Linked DNA regions of Homo sapiens: all the other regions are linked to region 4. The links are contacts of gene promoters, found by promoter capture Hi-C in blood cells and fetal thymus (Javierre and others, 2016). All regions are on one chromosome and are shown on one strand. The core of a region is centred on a gene start or on the middle of the fragment in contact, and the rest is flanking DNA. Distances in the headings are between cores, read along the strand shown. Region 1 overlaps MTMR9 (myotubularin related protein 9). Region 2 overlaps LINC00529 (long intergenic non-protein coding RNA 529). Region 3 has its middle 3.1 kb from the start of XKR6. Region 4 holds the start of AGPAT5 (1-acylglycerol-3-phosphate O-acyltransferase 5).

Region 1 (3,248 bases), core at 94-2,593, 4.6 Mb after region 4:
AGCAAGACCCTGTCTCCAAAAAAAAAAAAAAAAAAAAAGAGGAAGACAAAAAAAAAAAAAAGGTGATGATAGAAGAAAGACAATATTCAAATGCATAATGGTTGATAATTCTCCAGAATCAGTAGAAGTTATTGAACCCTTAAGCTGAGGTATCCCAGCAAATACCATACAAGATAATAAAAAAATCTTTAGACATGTTGTTGTTCAGCTACTGAACAATAAAGCAAAGAAAATACCACAAAGTTAAAAGACAAATGACCTGCATGGTGTTAGATTAACAGAGGAAAAAAGTTTGATCAATATCTATTTATGATAAAAGCTCTTAGAGTTGGATTTGAAGGAAATTTATTTAATCTGATAAAGGATGGGTACCAAAACCAAAAACATAAAAAAAGCAAATCTTGTATCATTCTCTCTAAGTTCAAGAATGAGGCAAGGATGTCCATTGTGACTACTTCTAGTCAGCTCAATAAGACAAGAAGGAAAAATACAGGGTATAGGGATTGAAATGAAGGTAGCAAAATTGTCAATATTTATTGATTATATGCTTGTCTACATAGGAAAAGGAAAGAATCTTGAGATCATAGGCATTTCTGTACACCAAACACAATTTTGAAGAGATGCAGTTAAAATGCAACAAAGATTATTGGGTTTCTAGGAATATATCTAAGAAAAGATAGTAAGACCTTTATTGAGAGAATTATAAAAATTTATGGAAAAAATTTTGAAAGCTTAAACAAATGGAAAAGACAATATACTCATGGATAGAGAGACTGAATATTCTAAAGATGTAAGTCATTCCCTCCGATTTATAAAGTCAATACAATCTTAATAAAAACCCCAGTTGGTTTTTATATTGAATTTGATAAAAGTTGCATGGAAGACCAAAAGACCAAGAGGAGCCACGTTACTCTTTGAAGAACAAAAAGGTGAGAGGAGGACACTTGGCCTACTAGATACCAAACTTATTTTAAAAGCTATAGGAGTTACTAAAGTGGACAAGTGCGACGGGATGGAGAGCACAGTACATTTGGACCAACAGAAGCGGCATTGCAGATCAATGGAGAGCCCTGTCATTCTCCAGAGTAGGAAATCAATAATAATATATCATAGTGAAAGTTCAAGAAATAACAGTATTATCATGTTGTTTAGAAATGTAAAGGTAAACACTGAAAAAGCTAAAAATGTTGAAAATGATTGCCTTTGGGGAAAGCAAATTGGGATGGGCTAGCAAGGAACAGATAACTACATTTTTTTAAAAATAATAAATCTTTAGAAACTGTGTTTTTTTTAAATTAATTAATTAATTATTTTTTGAAACAATCTCACTCCAGTTGCCCAGGCTGGAGTGCAGTGGCGCTGTCACAGCTCACTGTGGCCTCGACTTCCTGGGCTCCCGTGATTCTTTCACCTCAGCATCCTAAGTAGCTGGAAATACAAGTGTGTGCCACTGTGCCTGGCTAATTTTTGCATTTTTAGTGGATATGGGGTTTGGCCATGTTGCCCTGGCTGGTCTTGAACTCCTGAACTCAAGCAATTTGCCTGCCTTGGCCTCCCAAAGTGCCGGGATGATAGGTGTGAACCACTGTGCCCAGCCTAGAAACTATGTTTTTAAACTGGTAACATAAATAACTTTGAAAAGTGAAAAAATTTAATTAAAAATGTGATACTGTATCTTATAAAAGCATTTTTTAAAAGTAATAATCTTGTCTGTTAGTACGTCTAACATACTTTTTAGCTTTATCTTCCTGCTATTGTAACCCATGGTTAGGCCAACTCAGATATACAGAACATATTGAAATTTACATATAATTTGATTTTTTTTTTTTACTGTAAAACCTTTTGACAGTGTTCAAGCTGTTTTTAATTCTGATGTTTAAAATAAGTTGTCATTTGATAGTTTTATATTGTATACTTCTAGTCCTTACTCAGTTTGAAATTATTTCATTGACTCCTAAGCTTAACCTTCCTTAGTATTGAGTTGGTACTGTTTTAAGAAAGGTGTTACCAATCTTAGTACATTTTTTACCTTTTTTAAAATAAACAAAGGGTTTGATATAGATAGTAGCTGTGTTCTCATTTGTTCTGGGGATGCATTATCTGGAGTCGTACAGTCTTACTTGTGCTTTAAGAGGATCATTAACAAACTAAATGGGACCCAGAAAAGGAAGAAGTAGGATGATGTTGGCCGTGATAATTGTGGATGTGCTTAATATATTTAACTTGGAGAATAGAACACTAAGGAGGATCAGCTGTCTTTCAAACATTTGATGGGATACCGTGTAAAATAGGGAACTTGTACGGTGTTGTCTGAAAGTACAGTAAAAACCAATAGAGGGAGCTACAGAGCAACAAGTTTTGCTCAGTGTGAGAAAGCACTTTCTGGGAACTGGTGATACCTAGCAATGCAGGAAGCTGGCCCTGAACCATAGAGCTCCTTTTCTCTGCAGCTACTTACATATAAGCTAGAGATCCACCTGTGAAATTCCTGAGAAATGGCTTCTTCATCAGTGAAAGTTGACCTCTAAGGTCTTTTAAAATTTCTCAGATTATTTTGCGACATTGAGATAGTTGCTTAGCTTTGAAGTATTTTGTGTTTTTCAGACCAGTGAATGGAGGCTAAGCTATGTCAATAAGGAATTTGCTGTCTGTCCCTCTTACCCACCAATTGTCACAGTGCCCAAATCCATCGATGATGAAGCTCTTCGGAAGGTAGCTACATTTCGACATGGAGGGCGCTTCCCAGTACTAAGCTATTACCACAAAAAAAATGGGATGGTAAGTGCACAGCACTACTGCTTGATGTACTGAAAGGCTTGGGTTGGGGATCTTTTCGTAGAAATGTTCCCTTTTGCTCTCTGTCTGTTCACTGAAATGATTGTCCAGGTCTCCACCACAAGGGCTTCCTTCATGTAAGCTTTAGGGAATCAGGAGTAGGGTGTTTTCTGTGGTGAGGATGTGATGCTGAATTCTTTCCATGATCCTGCTCAGCCGTATAAAAGCCCTGATAGCTTTATCTCCAGGACACTATACAAAGGAAACTAGTGTTTATTTGATGCTTACAGCAACATTCTTCTGGTAGAAAAATGAGAAATTTCTCTGTTCAGAATAATGGTAAAATACTTGAATTTTTCTTAACAACTTTACACGTGAAAGGTGGAGCAGACGTATTTATTTTCAAAGGTGAAAAGAGTGATGCTCATGTCATTTAGTCACAACTCTAGTAAACACTGGAGTCAGGATTAAAC
Region 2 (2,858 bases), core at 109-2,608, 4.6 Mb after region 4:
CTTTGTAAATCATCCCCCCTCATCTTCCCTACTCTGTTGGTTCTTGTTTTTAGACTGGACTCTCAGGTGCAACAATATTATTGTTACTGGTGGAGAGTACTGACTACAAATCACCCAGGTTCTTGGCATTTTGAACAAAGAATTGGACAAAATTCACAAACAAAGCAACAAAAAAGTGAAGCGACAAAAGCATAGATTTACTGAAACAAAAGTACACTCCACAGAGCGGGAGCGGGCTCAAGCAAGTGGCTCAAGAGCGCTGGTTACAGAATTTTCTGGGGCTTAATTTTTTTATTTTTTTGAGGCGGAGTCTTGTTCTGTCACCCAGGCTGGAGTGCGGTGGCACATTCTTGGCTCACTGCAACCTACACCTCCCAGGTTCAAGCAATTCTCCTGCTTCAGCCTCCCCAATAGCTGGGATTACAGGCCCACACCACACCTGGCTAATTTTTGTAATTTTAGTAGAGATAGGGTTTCACCATGTCGGTTGGCCAGGCTAGTCTGGAACTCCTAACCTTGTGATCCACCCTCCTCAGCCTCCCAAAGTGGTGGGATTACAGGTGTGAGCCATCGTGCAGCATGGGGTTTAAATAGCCTCTAGAGGTTTCCCATTGGTTACTTGGTTACACCCTATGTAAATGAAGGAGTGGCCCGTCACAAGTCTGACTGATCATGGGAGGTGACCAATCAGAGTCTGAAGTGACGGTAGTTACAAAGTTACACATGAAGACTTGGCCTGCAACCAGTCTGAATGGTTGTGGGAGGGGACCAATCAGAGGTACTTTCCATTTTTCATTTGCAGTGCAGTGCAAAGGGAGTAGCCTCTGATCCTTTCGTTACATTCGTGTGAAGAGGTGGGGTTTCCCCTCTGATTCAGTTCTAGGAAGTCAGTGAGAATTGGCCTTAGGTTCCCTGCCTCTAGACCCTATTCTCCTGTCTCATTTTCCCGCTGTGAGACATGATCCCCATAAATCTTTATGGGAGGCAGAGGGACCAATGGTCTTTCTTCTGTAACTGCTTCATGCTGACTTGGGGTGCGGTGCCTACCTATTTGGGATCACAGAACTCTCACTCTGCTCTGTCTAGTGGATACAGGGTAGCTTCTTGATGGCCAGTAGTGGTGTCTTCACCTGAACTGGCTGGAAACCTTGTTGCATGATCATCTGAAGCTTGATGGTCTCTAGGCGAGAGGAAATTAATTTGGTTAATGTATTTAATAAATATGGTCCAAAAACCAAGGCAAGTATAATTAACAACGAGCCAGTCAGAGGAAGGACTCATGAACCCCTAATTAGCATTTTTGAACAGGAGGACCACGACTTGGACAGCTGTTGTCGTATCTTAGAAGCCTGGTCAGCTAATTTCTGGGTGGCATCCCTTACTAATTCTAATTGGTTGACATAAAAACAGCATTCTTCCTCTAGAAAAAGACATAAGCCACCTTTTCCAGCAGTTAGGAGATCCAGTCCCCTTCTATTTTGTAAAGCAACTGCTGCCAAGGAGTCTGTTTGAGTTTGTGTTGTGACGATACTTTGGGCAATGTCATCCAAGCTTTCCACAAAATCCTTGGAAAGTGCTGGTAACAGTATAGGGAAGTTGCAAGCCCGGTAACTCCCGTTCCTGCTCTCACTGTTATTCCTAGCCCAACAAAAAGGCGTTTGAGTTGGATTGCTCATTTGTGTCTGGCGGTTGCAGTTAAAGGTATAATGAGGGATTGGTTGTTGAGAGCTCTCCCTCTCTCTCTCTAAATATATATATATATATACACATATATATATAGTTTGTTTGTTTTGAGACAGTCTCCCTCTGTCACCCAGGCTGGAGCACAGTGGCTCAGTCTTGGCTCACTGCAACCTCTGTCTCCAGGGTTCAAGTGATTCTCCTGTCTCAGTCTCCAGAGTAGCTGGGATTACAGGTGTGCGCCACCATACCCGGCTAATTTTTTGTATTTTTAGTAGAAACAGGGTTTCAGCATGTTGGCCAGGCTGGTCTCGAACTCCTGACCTCAGGTGATCCGCCTGCCTCGGCCTCCCAAAGTGCTGGGATTATAGGCGTGAGAAACTGCGCCCGGCCGGGAGCTATATTGATTTCGGAGGCTAAAAACCAAGTGTACAGGTTCCAGTCCAATTGGCTGGTAAACACAGTAGGAACTGGTGCTGCACAGGGAAAAGGTTCCTTGTTTTTCAAGACAAAAATTGTTTTCCATGGTGAACATGTGGGTTAGCTTGTTGTTTTCACTTTCCCAAGTGGTTAAGTTTCCTACTAAAGTGGCCAAGCGAAAATGTCAACCCAGCTAGTGGGCCCACCTTCACAGTACTTAGACTGTGCATCCTTTAAAGTGCCCTTAACTAGGGATGGTTTCCATGAAAAGCATACAGGTTTTCTAAACGATGCAGTTTGGTTAATTGCATAGCTTACATGATTGTGTGAGGGTTAATTTCTGGGGTGTGGTTGCATTGAAGACTTCAAGTTCCCACGACCTGAACAGAATTTTGGCTTCTTTCAATACAAAGTGGCATCTGGAATTTTAGCTCTGTGTATGTTGATGTTGGGCCCCTAATGGGTTTCTGTGGGAATGCACCCTCAAAAAGGTTGCTCTGATTGGACTGGAGAGGGTTTACTGCTCATCCTGTCATTTTAACCTTTGTCATTTCCATACTTTTGAAGTCTTATAAGTCATCCAGATTCATTAATTCAAAGGGAGTTCCTCCCTGGTAGTTGGAATGATAGGTCATTTTTTTCAAGGACCCAAGATCGGGCTGGGATAGGGATGGCAGTGTATCTGGATGAAGATAGGAGATAAACAAAGCCAACAGTCCTTTGCCAGAGCTGAGCTGGTGGTATTTAACAGTCTTTGC
Region 3 (2,919 bases), core at 233-2,732, 4.5 Mb after region 4:
TAAAGGTGGTAATCCTTTCAAGGATCTCAATATGATACCTGATAGGCAGCTAAGCACTAGAGAGTAACTGCTATTATTATTACTGTTGTTATTATTATGTTTGCATAATACTGACATGTTTCTACTTAAATTCTATCGCTGAGTGTATTTGGTATCTCTAATAAAAGAAAGCATTTTGAAATACTTCTAGAAAATAGGTGCAATTAATTTGTGCTTTCAAATATATTTTCTCTATTTAAGCTACGAGGCTGTGAAATGAGATACAAAAGCGGGCAGTAATGGTGTATTTATGATTCCTATTTCTGTGTGCCCTGAAAGAACATAAACTAGTGAAATTAGCTAAGTAAATTACACTCGCTATATAAGGCTGACAAATGAGCTTATGAGTCAAAAGTGTTTATTACAATTGAAGTTTCAAGTAGATATGTAAGATTCTCAGACTGTCAAGTGACTTCAACTTTACATTTGCTGTTTCAACAATTTTGTCCTTCTACTTTCTTTGGAAGAAGGATACATTATGGAACCCAGAAGGCTCTAAAATCAGTTACAATGATAATAAACCTCTCATGAAGACTCACTGAAAAGTTAACATAAATCTGGACTGTGCTTTGGATGGCACACTTTTACCTAGAATTTTGGGGGTGATTTTTGTTCCAAGTAAGCCAGCACTTAGCACAATGCTGAACACATAGTGGGCACTCTATAAGTATTGATTAAATTAGTGCAAATTAATTTTCCAGATAACTGAAATTTCACCTTTAAGTGCCAAAAAAAATGTATTTTACGTTTTATGATGTAAACCTCCATAAAATTCAATCATTACGGAGATACCTCAAAACTTTAAAGTGGGGGGAAAGTGAAAGAAATGCATTGCCCATTGGCTTGTGCTCTGCACATCAGGCAGAAAGTTGACCTTTTCTTGACAACTTGACCTTGAAGTGGCCTTATGCTAAGAGGCTCTAACTATTTATGTGCCTGTGCCGGCCTGCTAAGCACCAACTGTTGTTGAGGTTGGTGGTGGTGGTGGTAGCAGTGGTGGTTTTTTCTAACAGTATTTTTTAATCTCTGCTTTCTTTGTTTATTCAGTTAATTAACAACTTTGGCCCCTGTATTTACACTTTAATATAGACAGAGAAGCCAAATAACAAAGCATGTTGGAGTTACATGTAAAATAATACTAAATAGATTTTTAGAGCCTCTTCTATGAGTAAAGTTAAAAAGCTTTAACATACAGAAATTGTGACATAAATTTTAAATGTTTAGAAGCCCTTTGGGGTTTTTCTTCCCAATTCTCTATTTTCAGAAAGGCACAAAGGAAAGTTAGTGTTGAATGCTATTATGTACTAAACAGTCTCCCATACGTGACTCCTTTTAATTATATGGCAGTCCAAAAACGCATGAGGATTAGTATTCCCATTTTAATGGTCTAGAAAACAGACTCGAGTCTGCCAAATGAGTTACCCAGAGTCACATGGGTAAGGGGAGCCATAGATTAGAATCCAGGCAGGTGTAATTCCAAAGCCTGCTACTTACCCTGCCATTGTCCTGGGCCAGGCAGCTACTGGCACTTCCAAATGAAATTAGTGTTACTGTGTTAGTCAGAGTAGGGACCCTATTACAATGCTGGTATGCAGCTAGGAAACAGAACACCTCAATTCCAATATGGGGATAGGCCTCAGCAAAAGCATTACAAAGAGGCTGTCTTATACATTTTTCGTAAGATTTTCCTAGTTTGAGCCTACATAAAGCTTCAAAAGAGTAGGTGGATGTCATCCTCATCAATTCTGTGCCTTGTATCTTATTGACTTCTATAGAAACAGGACTTCTTTGAGTGCTGAGGAGTAAGCTCATAGAACCCATTATCCCTGGAAGCTACATTTCTGTATTCGATGTTAAGAATTGAAGTGTTAGCAAGCACTCTCATACTTTGTTGCTGGTGGTACAAAATGGTAAAATCTTTATGAAAGGGAATTTGGCACTACTTACCAAAATTTCAAATGCAGGTACCCTTTGAGACAGCCATCCCTTTTATGGGACTTTATCTTACAGATAAATACATAGATGTCAGAAAGTATGTGTGTACAAGTTTATTCATGTAGCATTGCTTACAATTGAGAGAAAGAATGGAAGGAAAAAACCCACATGTCCACCCAAAGGGGAACTAGTTAAATAAATTATGGTACATCCACACAACAGAATATGGTGCAGTGATGTTGAAAAATGATAGTTTTCTTTTTAATGATATACAAAGAGTTGCAGGATGCTTTGTTACACAAAACTCAAAGTGCAAAACAATAGAACATGCTGCATTTTCTGTAAGAAAGGGGAAGAGATAAGGTTATCTTTTCTTATTTGTTTGTATTTGCATAAAGCAACTCTGGAAAGAGACCTAAGAAACAAAGTGATTACCTGTAGGGTGGTGGTAATGGTGGAGAGAAATGCTGTGAGTAGGAACAAGGATGGGAGAAAGATAATAAATGTTTGGGGGGAAGTTTGGGGAGGTCGCAGGGAATATGCACCCATATGTAGTGTCACAGAGATCGGTAAGAATCGGCGGGGGTAGGTACATCTGTATTCTCTAACAGCAACATCACTGAGGAGTATTTTGTGAAGTTTTTTGTCTCTTAAAAACTAGTTATAACTCCGACATCTGTGAATTGATTTAAACCCTTCTTGAGCTTCTTTATATTTTTATCCACTGTATTGTCTAAGTAAGGATAAAAAGCTTCATGTATTTACTCCCCAAAGAGCAGAGTACAGTGTAACTTTATCATACGTACACTTACCGTGTGTGGAGTCAACTAATCATGCCCAACCAAAAGAAAATAAGGATCGCCAGGTGCAGTGGCTCACGCCTGTAATCCGAACACTTTGGGAGGCCAAGGCGGAAGGATCTCTTGAAACCAGGAGTTGGAAACT
Region 4 (2,780 bases), core at 213-2,712:
AATGATGTTGTTATTTGATGTTAATCATGTATAAAGAAAGTAGCTACCATCCTGGCCCTGATTAGAACTTCCCACTGAAATACCGTCCTGCCTAAAGGTAGCACAGGCTCCCATTATGGTGGTGGTGGGGAGGGGGCGGGAATATATATATATATATATATATATATATATATATATATATGGTAAAGCATTCGGCATTCTTTTAAAGTACAACTATCCTTGAAAAGGGTTACATATTAAACCATTTTTACCACAGCCAAAGGGGAGGAGAAAGATCCAAAAGTCCTGTGGATCTGCTTTAACATCAATAAAACAGTTATCCACCCTTCGTAGCTTTTAGTGAAGGCTACAAAAGTATGCTTTTTATGGATTACACATGTGCACGCAACTACTTTAATTACTACAGAAAAAAACGAGGCTCCTTATTAAAAAAAAATCAGAAACAAGTCCAACAGACTCTGAGGAAATGAAGCAAGAGTGAATTCTGAAAAGGTCTAATAAACAGTATGGAAATATCCTTGTGGGATTGTTCTTCAGCTATGCATAAACATGTAATTATCATCATTACTGTGATGGGGAAAAACACGGACCCTAATTCTGAAACACCCTGGTAGCGAGAGACGGGCAGGAGGGGCTGCTGCGCACTCAGAGCGGAGGCTGAGGAGGCGGCGTCCCCTTGCAAAGGACTGGCAGTGAGCAGATGGGGACACTCGAGCTGCCCCGCGACCTGGGCCGAGCTGCCTACAACCTGGGCCCAGGTGCCTGCAAGAATTAGACCTCCGATAACGTTAACACCCACTTTCTCACTGCTCTAATTGTGTGCATCCCGGCGCCCAGGGGCTTGTGAGCAGCAGGTGCGCGTTCCAGGCAGCTCCAGCGACCCTTAAACCTGACCGCGCGCACGTCCGGCCCGAGGGAGCAGAACAAGAGGCACCCGGACCCTCCTCCGGCCAGCACCCACCTTCACCCAGTTCCGTCAGTCGCCACCACCTCCCTTCCCGCGTCCGCAGCCGGCCCAGCTGGGGAGCATGCGCAGTGGCCGGAGCCGGGTTGCCCGCGCCCCAGCAGGTAGCTGTACTGCAACTGTCGGCCCAAACCAACCAATCAAGAGACGTGTTATTGCCGCCGAGGTGGAACTATGGCAACGGGCGACCAATCAGAAGGCGCGTTGTTGCCGCGGAGCCCCCTGCCCCGGCAGGGGGATGTGGCGATGGGTGAGGGTCATGGGGTGTGAGCATCCCTGAGCCATCGATCCGGGAGGGCCGCGGGTTCCCTTGCTTTGCCGCCGGGAGCGGCGCACGCAGCCCCGCACTCGCCTACCCGGCCCCGGGCGGCGGCGCGGCCCATGCGGCTGGGGGCGGAGGCTGGGAGCGGGTGGCGGGCGCGGCGGCCCGGGCCCGGGCGGTGATTGGCCGCCTGCTGGCCGCGACTGAGGCCCGGGAGGCGGGCGGGGAGCGCAGGCGGAGCTCGCTGCCGCCGAGCTGAGAAGATGCTGCTGTCCCTGGTGCTCCACACGTACTCCATGCGCTACCTGCTGCCCAGCGTCGTGCTCCTGGGCACGGCGCCCACCTACGTGTTGGCCTGGGGGGTCTGGCGGCTGCTCTCCGCCTTCCTGCCCGCCCGCTTCTACCAAGCGCTGGACGACCGGCTCTACTGCGTCTACCAGAGCATGGTGCTCTTCTTCTTCGAGAATTACACCGGGGTCCAGGTGAGCCGCCTCCCGCTCCCGGGTCTCGGCGTCCACCCGAGCTCCCGGGGGCGCGGACCTCTCCGCTCCCCCACAGCTGGCGAGGGTCACCCGGCCGGCCCGGCGGACCCAGCACGGAGAGCACGTGCCGCCTCCCCGCCTTCCTCTCCGCATGCTTCCTGCCGTTCTGCCGAGATCGCTCTCTAGGAAGCTGTGGCTGCGTCGTCCTGAGGCTACGAGTGGGACCCGCCGCCCCTTTCCCCGCCCCTCGCCTGGGTCTGATGCTGCTTAGCAAAGTGGGTGCAGATGCACGTTTTAAATAATAGGGCACGCGTTTAGCAGTTTCTGGCCTTTGGTCCAAAGAGGTGGTCATGTTGGAACAGATCGGAGACGTCTACACTCCGAAGTGCGCTTTTACAGTGACCTCTTGAAACAGAAGTACAATTCGGTCTTGTGTTCTTTCCCCTGGACAAGTGAAAGCTGGGCGAAGAAATGAATACATTTGTTAACCGTAGAAGCCTAACTAGATACATTTCTTGCCAACTTTAACTGGGCTTGAATGTGTGGGTGATCTGTTGTCTGATTACTTTCTTTCTGTTACTGTTTCTCTGTAGAGATTGGATTCGTAGATTAAACTTGAGAAACAAACCATAAAAGTGGAAGGCCCTCTTTAACAGTAGGTATTTGAAGTGTTATAAAAAAAAAAAAAAGGTGAATTTTTCTTTTATTTCTCAGTTTGAAAGAACAGCTTTATTCTTGGTTATTCCTAATGTCCACCTAGTCCTCTTTTACTTTTCTTGGTAGGGTTAGGGTGGCATGGGGAAATGGGACGGTATCATTTTGTCTTTTTAACTTTTTTTTTTTCCACCTACAGCAGCTGTTTTTACCCTGTGGTCAGTCAGGTACTATATTTAGTTTGCAGTTGCACTGCTGATCGACCCTTGATGGCCCCAGTTGGAAGTTGTTTGGGGGGAAGGAACTAGGAGAGGCCAGGGCCTCCATTTAAACCAGTGTCTGTAAGTGTCTCCTTGGAAAGAAAAAAAGATACTGTTCCAGGTCATGGTTTCCTGGTAGTTGACGTTTAAAATGGGCC

What was found. The method cuts DNA at HindIII sites, captures the fragments that hold promoters and counts their contacts. A CHiCAGO score of 5 or more calls a contact.
Region 1: a fragment that was not itself captured here is called in contact with the fragment with the promoter of AGPAT5 in region 4 in 1 of 17 cell types (M2 macrophages); the score reaches 5.9 in M2 macrophages.
Region 2: a contact is called between a fragment that was not itself captured here and the fragment with the promoter of AGPAT5 in region 4, in 1 of 17 cell types (total CD4 T cells). The highest score is 5.8, in total CD4 T cells.
Region 3: a contact is called between a fragment that was not itself captured here and the fragment with the promoter of AGPAT5 in region 4, in 2 of 17 cell types (non-activated CD4 T cells and total CD4 T cells). The highest score is 9.4, in non-activated CD4 T cells.

Annotation. Positions count from the first base shown.
Region 1 is chr8:11,302,237-11,305,484 of GRCh38, forward strand. MTMR9 (myotubularin related protein 9) reads left to right here. Exons shown (of 10, transcript NM_015458.4): 4 at 2,605-2,778. Among named protein-coding and RNA genes, the nearest start is that of MTMR9, 19 kb to the left of the region's middle. The HindIII fragment of the contact is 1,228 bases long and covers 730-1,957 here.
Region 2 is chr8:11,280,242-11,283,099 of GRCh38, forward strand. LINC00529 (long intergenic non-protein coding RNA 529) reads right to left here. Exons shown (of 5, transcript NR_170283.1): 2 at 1,048-1,180. Among named protein-coding and RNA genes, the nearest start is that of LINC00529, 2.4 kb to the right of the region's middle. RefSeq lists a silencer at 712-761. The HindIII fragment of the contact is 382 bases long and covers 1,168-1,549 here.
Region 3 is chr8:11,203,483-11,206,401 of GRCh38, forward strand. No RefSeq gene overlaps it. Among named protein-coding and RNA genes, the nearest start is that of XKR6, 3.1 kb to the left of the region's middle. The HindIII fragment of the contact is 527 bases long and covers 1,220-1,746 here.
Region 4 is chr8:6,707,180-6,709,959 of GRCh38, forward strand. It overlaps AGPAT5 (1-acylglycerol-3-phosphate O-acyltransferase 5), which reads left to right and starts at 1,463. Exons shown (of 8, transcript NM_018361.5): 1 at 1,463-1,708. The coding sequence starts at 1,490. MCPH1-AS1 (MCPH1 antisense RNA 1) reads right to left here and starts at 1,030. Exons shown (of 5, transcript NR_125386.1): 1 at 962-1,030. RefSeq lists silencers at 1,217-1,556, 1,617-1,856. The HindIII fragment of the contact is 5,238 bases long and covers 1-2,780 here.